Regions from separate parts of the Homo sapiens genome. Here region 2 is linked to region 1. The links are contacts of gene promoters, found by promoter capture Hi-C in blood cells and fetal thymus (Javierre and others, 2016). All regions are on one chromosome and are shown on one strand. The core of a region is centred on a gene start or on the middle of the fragment in contact, and the rest is flanking DNA. Distances in the headings are between cores, read along the strand shown. Region 1 holds the start of COG7 (component of oligomeric golgi complex 7). Region 2 has its middle 5.0 kb from the start of RBBP6.

The links. Contacts are between HindIII fragments. The CHiCAGO score rates a contact against its expected background, and 5 or more counts as called.
Region 2: a contact is called between a fragment that was not itself captured here and the fragment with the promoter of COG7 in region 1, in 1 of 17 cell types (naive CD8 T cells). The highest score is 5.1, in naive CD8 T cells.

Annotation. Positions count from the first base shown.
Region 1 is chr16:23,451,772-23,454,702 of GRCh38, reverse strand. It overlaps COG7 (component of oligomeric golgi complex 7), which reads left to right and starts at 1,514. Exons shown (of 17, transcript NM_153603.4): 1 at 1,514-1,877. The coding sequence starts at 1,709. It overlaps LOC124903667 (a long non-coding RNA gene), which reads right to left and starts at 1,960. Exons shown (of 2, transcript XR_007065030.1): 1 at 1,438-1,960. RefSeq lists enhancers at 1,185-1,234, 1,525-1,854. The HindIII fragment of the contact is 18,303 bases long and covers 1-2,931 here.
Region 2 is chr16:24,533,111-24,536,041 of GRCh38, reverse strand. No RefSeq gene overlaps it. Among named protein-coding and RNA genes, the nearest start is that of RBBP6, 5.0 kb to the left of the region's middle. The HindIII fragment of the contact is 5,139 bases long and covers 1-2,931 here.

The DNA.
Region 1 (2,931 bases), core at 265-2,764:
GACTTACACTATCAGATTGCTCCCCTCGTCTCCCCTCCCTGCATTGCTCCCCTCCTCTCTCCTTCCCTCCTCTCCCCTCCCCCCAAATAACTGGGACTCCTAGCAGAAGGGTTACCCCAGTTAAAACCTACTCAACCCAGAAGAATGAGACAAACCAAGGGAGATGCCAATGAAAAACGAGTGACTATCAGGCCTGGAGATGGCAGCCAGCCACTCATACCCCAATGGCAGGCCAACCTGGAAAACTGTCCCCTGTAGGGTTTCCAAGGATGACATCTTGTCCTCCCCCTTGGGTTGGTCCCACTCTTGAAACAACATAAAAACTTAGAACCTAAAGAATACCCTCATACCTTCCCCTACCTTTTCTTCTTTTCTTTTCGAGACAGGGTCTCGCTCTGTCACCCAGGCTGGAGTGCAGTGGCGTGATCACAGCTCACTGCAGCCTCGACCTCCTGGGCTCAGGCAATCCTCTCACCCCAGCCTCTCGAGTAGCTGAGACTACAGGTGTGCGCCACCACACTCAGCTAATTTTTAATTTTTTTGCAGAGACGGGGTCTTCCTATGTTGCCCAGGCTGAGAAATTGTTTGTGATTATGGGTTATGCACAGATTTCTCAGCCGCAACACCAAAAGCATGATCCATAAAAAAAGGTGATAAGGAACTTAACAAACTTTAAAAGGTCTGCACCTCAAAACACATCATTAAGAAAATAATTAGTTAGGCCAGGCGCGGTGACTCACGCCTGTGATCCCAACACTTTGGGAGGCCGAGGCAGGCGGATCACCTGAGGTTGGGAGTTTGAGGCCAGCCTGGCCAGCGTGGTGAAACCCCATCTCTACTAATAATACAAAAAGTAGCCGGGCGTGGTGGCACGCGCCTGTAATCCCAGCTACTCGGGAGGCTGAGGCAAGACACTCGCTTGAACCTGGGAGGCGGAGGTTGCAGTGAGCCGAGATCGCGTCACTTCGCTCCAACCTGGGCGACAGAGCAAGACTCCGTCTCAGAAAAAAATAAAGAAAGAAAGAAAAAGAAAGAAATAGCCGGGCGTGTTGTCGCGCGCCTGTAGTCCCAGCTACTCTGGAGGCTGAGGTGGGAGGATCGCTGGAGCCCAGAAATTTGAGGCTGCAGTGAGCTGAGATCGTTCAATTGCCCAGGAATTTGAGGCTGTAGTGAGCAGAGATCGTTCAATTGCACTCCATTGCTGCCCACTGCGCTCCACTGTTGCCCAGGCTGTCCTAGAACTCCTGGCCTCAAGCGATTCTCCCGCGTCAGCTTCCTAAAGAGCTGGGATTACAGGCGCGAGCCACCGCGTAAATGCGCTAATGTATGTCAGGGCTTTATAGTAAGCATATAGTTTAGTCCTCGGCAAATGTTAGCAGACATGGGATATTTGTCGGTGCCGGGAGCTCTCAGTCCGGGGCGTTTTCCCACACCCACCTCTGCTCAGCGCTCCGGACGCCTGCAGTCACTATGGTAACGGCCAACGACTTCCGGAAGAAGAACGGCGGGCGGCGAGGGTCATTCCCAGCCGCAAACTGAGTGCGCTGAGCGGGGAAGCGCAAAGGGGCAAGTTACCCGTCCTGGCGTTTCTGGGGTTCGCCTCGGAGGCTAGCCTCGGTGCTCTCGCAGGCTCGCTCGCTTCTGCATCCCCGTTGCCGCCCGGAGCCAACTCTTAAGTTCTGGACGCCAGGCCTGAGGCAGTTCCGCCATGGACTTCTCCAAGTTCCTGGCAGACGACTTCGACGTGAAGGAGTGGATCAATGCGGCCTTCAGGGCCGGCTCCAAGGAGGCGGCGTCCGGGAAGGCGGATGGCCACGCAGCCACCCTGGTGATGAAGCTGCAGCTGTTCATCCAAGAGGTGAACCACGCCGTGGAGGGTGAGCCGCTCGGGGCCCTGGCCGCGGGACCCTCCCCTGCTCTCGGCTGGGCAGAGGTCACCGAACTTGCGTGAGGCACTCAGGTGGGCGGGGCACGCATGGACAGCAAATACCCTCGGCAAAAGAGCAAGCCCCGAACTCCTGATCACGTCAGCGGGAGTCTCAGCTGGGTGCCGGGCTGTCTTGAACACTTGCTAATTTTGGGTGTTGTTTTTCCTCCTCTGGCTGGGCTATAAGTTTCCTTTTTCTTTTCTTTCTTTCTCTTTGTTTTTTCTTTTGAAACAGGGTCTCTCTACAGTGGCTCGATCATAGCTCACTGCAGCCTCGAACTCCTGCACTCAAGCGATCCTCTCGCCTCTCGAGTCGCTAGGACTACAGGCGCGAGCCACCGCGCCCCACAAATTCTGTTTAAAAAAAAAATTGTAGAGATGGGATCTCACTGTGTTGCCAGGCTGGTCTCAAATTCAAATTCCTGGGCATAATGGGTTTTCCAGTCTTGGCCTCCCAAAGTACTGTGATTATACCTGTGAGCCACCACATCTGGCCTGAAGTTTCCTTTTGGAACTTAAAAGAGTGGATCTTATTGCAGTAGCTCTTCTCTAAATAATTCAATAGCAGATCTCTGGGATTCCCTTTTTATTATTATCCATAGGCACTGGAAGACAAGATGGATCTTTTTAAATGCTAGAAGTTTTAACCAGTTCTTAACATGTCTTTGTTGAGGCACCTTCCAGAATATAAGATAAAACAACTCCAGTTTCTGTTATAGTGACTTGAATCTCAGAGTCAAGAGCCCAGTGTCAAAGAAAATTGGCTTTGACTTTTTGTAATCTAGGAGCACGAGTCTGTGAGGTGTTTATTCAAAGAGTTAAAGAGCCTGTTTTGTACCAAACAATAAACTGTAAAAAGAAAAAAAAAGTGAATTTTGAGAGTATGAAAGAATAGCCAACAGATCCATATATCTGGAAAAAACGTATTATAGTATAGGTATAAGAGAATGACACAGATCTAGAAAACATTGTTTTAGTGGATTTTATTTCAGCTGAGGAAGATA
Region 2 (2,931 bases), core at 156-2,655, 1.1 Mb before region 1:
GGGAGGATAGCTTGAGCCGGGGAGTTTGAGGCAGCAGTGAGCTATGATCGTGCCACTGCACTCCAGCCTAAGCAACAAAGGGAGAACCTGTCTCCAAACAAACAAACAAAAGTCCATTGACCTTTCTCCCTTTATGGTTTTTGCTTTTGCTTTGAGAAATGGCTTGTAGCCCACTCAGCACTCACCTTAGATATTTTTTTGCTATATTTCCTTCCAGTTTATATATAGCTTCATGATTTTAAACTCCATAATCAATCTGATTTTTTTTGGTATATAGGGTATAATATAGAATGAAGATCACTGTATTCCCTTTTTCATTGTGAAGTATATTGTTAATAAAGAGTCCATGAGTGGTGGCTCACACCTGTAATCTTAGCACTTTGGGAGGCCAAGGTGGGAGTATCACTTGAGCCCAGGAGTTTGAGACCAGCCTGGGCAATATGGCGAAAACCCATCTCTACAAAAAATTAATAACTTAATCAGGCATGGTGTCGCATGCCTATGGTACCAGCTACTCAGAAGACTGAGGTGGGAGGATTGCTTGAGCCTGGGAGGTTGAGGCTACAATGAGCTGTGATTGTGCCACTGCACTCCAGCCTGGGTGACAGAGTGAGACCCTGTATCAAAAAATAAATAAATAAATAAATAAATAGAAAAGGGACAAAATATATATCTCGCTCTGTTGTCCAGGCTGGAGTACAGTGAGACAATCTCGGCTCACTGCAACCTCCACCTCCCGGGTTCAAGCGATTCTCTTGCCTCAGCCTCTCGAGTCACTGGGATTACAGTTCAGCACCACGCCGGACTAATTTTTGTATTTTTGGTAGAGACGGGGTTTCACCACTTTGGCCAGGCTGGTCTCAAACTCCTGACCTCAAGTGATCCACCTGCCTCGGCCTCCCAAAGTGCTGGGATTACAGGCGTGAGTCACCGTGCCCAGCCTTATTTTAATTTTTTTTAATGTTTATTTTTTGTCGGTACATAATATACTCTTTTTTAGAGCAGTTTCAGGTTCACAGAAAAATTGAGTGGAAAGTATAGGGTTCCCATATGCCCCTCTCCCCTCATACAGTTTCCACTATTGTTAACATTTTGCATTGATGTCATATATTTGTTAGGATTGATGAGTCAGTATTGATACATTATTAACTAAAGTCCACAGTTCATATTAGGGGTTACCTTTTGTGTTGTGCATTCTGTGGATTTTGGCAAATGTATAGTGACATATAAAAATTCCCCTGTGTCCTTCTTAGTCATCCCTCCTTCCTGTTGCTGACAAAGGGATCCCCATCCAGACCTCAAGATAAGGTTCTTGGATCTGGCACAGGAAAGAATTAAGGATGAGTCTCAGAGTACAGTGAGAAGAGATAGTGTATTGAAAGCTACTTCATTGCAGAGTAGGGCATCCTCAGAAAGCAACAGGACGAATGCACTGTCTTTATTTTAAACTCTTCTAATATAGGGTCTTATCTATGTAAAAGCTAAGCTGTGTCTATGTGCTAGTAGGCTGGCAGCATAACAAATTTATTACCTTGTTGATTTAAAGAAAATTATCCTTGGCATTTTAGTGCGTAAGTATATCAAAAAGCATGACTATAATGGTTGTAAAATCATATATTGTTATGAGAGATCGGGACATCTGGACATTTTGTTGTTGGAGGAGTTTGTCCTTGCAGGCATTACTAAGCTGTTTCTTCAGTTGTAAACATCTTATGACCATGAGCCGTGACCAGCAGGGAATGTGCCTTGCTAGTTTTAAGATGGAGTCTGTTTTAAAATGGTGACACTGGCCGGGCACAGTGGCTCACGCCTGTAATCGCAGCACTTTGGGAGGCCGAGGCAGGTGGATCACCTGAGGTCAGGAGTTAAGACCAGCCTGGCCAACATGGTGAAACCCCATCTCTACGAAAAATACAAAAATTAGCTGGGCATGGTGGTATGGACCTGTAATCCCAGCTACTCAGGAGGCTGAAGCAGGAGAATCACTTGAATCTGGGAGGCAGAAGTTGCAGTGAGCTGGGATCGTGCCATTGCACTCCAGCCTGGGTGACAAGGGTGAAACTCTGTCTCAATAAATAAATAAATAAATAAATAAGGTGTTACCCTGGCTCTCCTATGCTACTGTTTCCCCAACCCTCCCTTCCACCCCAGACCCCAAGCAATCATTGATTTCTTTACTGTCTCCATAGTTTTGCCTTTTCTAGAATGTCATATAGTTGGAATCATAGATGAAGTCATACAGCCTTTTCAGATTGGAGTAGTTCACACTTATGGATAAGCAGCAAGAACATAAGAAACCTCTATGTACCCTTTACTCAGATTCAGCAATTGTTTACCTTTTTTTCCCATTTTGGTTTTTTTTTCCTTTTTTTTTTTTTTTAGAGGCAAAATCTTGCTCTGTCACCCCAGCTGGAGTGCAATGGCACTATCATAGCTCAGTGCAGTCTTGACCTCCTGGGCTCAAGCAATCCTCCCACTTCAGCCTCTCGAGTAGCTGGGACTACAGGCTCCAGCCACCACACCCAGGTAATTTTTTTTTTTTTTTTTTTTTTTTTTTTTGTAGAGATGGGATCTCACTATGCAGCCCAGGCTGGTTTCAAACTCCTGGGCTCAAGTGATCCTCCCCCATCAGCCTCCAAAAGTGCTGGGTTTACAGCCATGAGCCACCGTGCCCCGTCTTGTCCCAGTCCTTTTTTTGTTTGTTTTTGAGACGGAGACTCACTCTGTCACCTAGGCTGGAGTGCAAAGGCGCCATCTCGGTTCACTGCAACCTCCGACTCCCAGGTTCAAGCGATTTCTCATGTCTCAGCCTTCCAAGCAGCTGGGACTACAGGTATGAGCCACCATGTCCAGCTAATTTTTTGTATTTTTAGTAGAAAAGAGATTTTGCCATGTTGACCAGGCTGGTCTCAAACTCCTAACCTCAAGTGA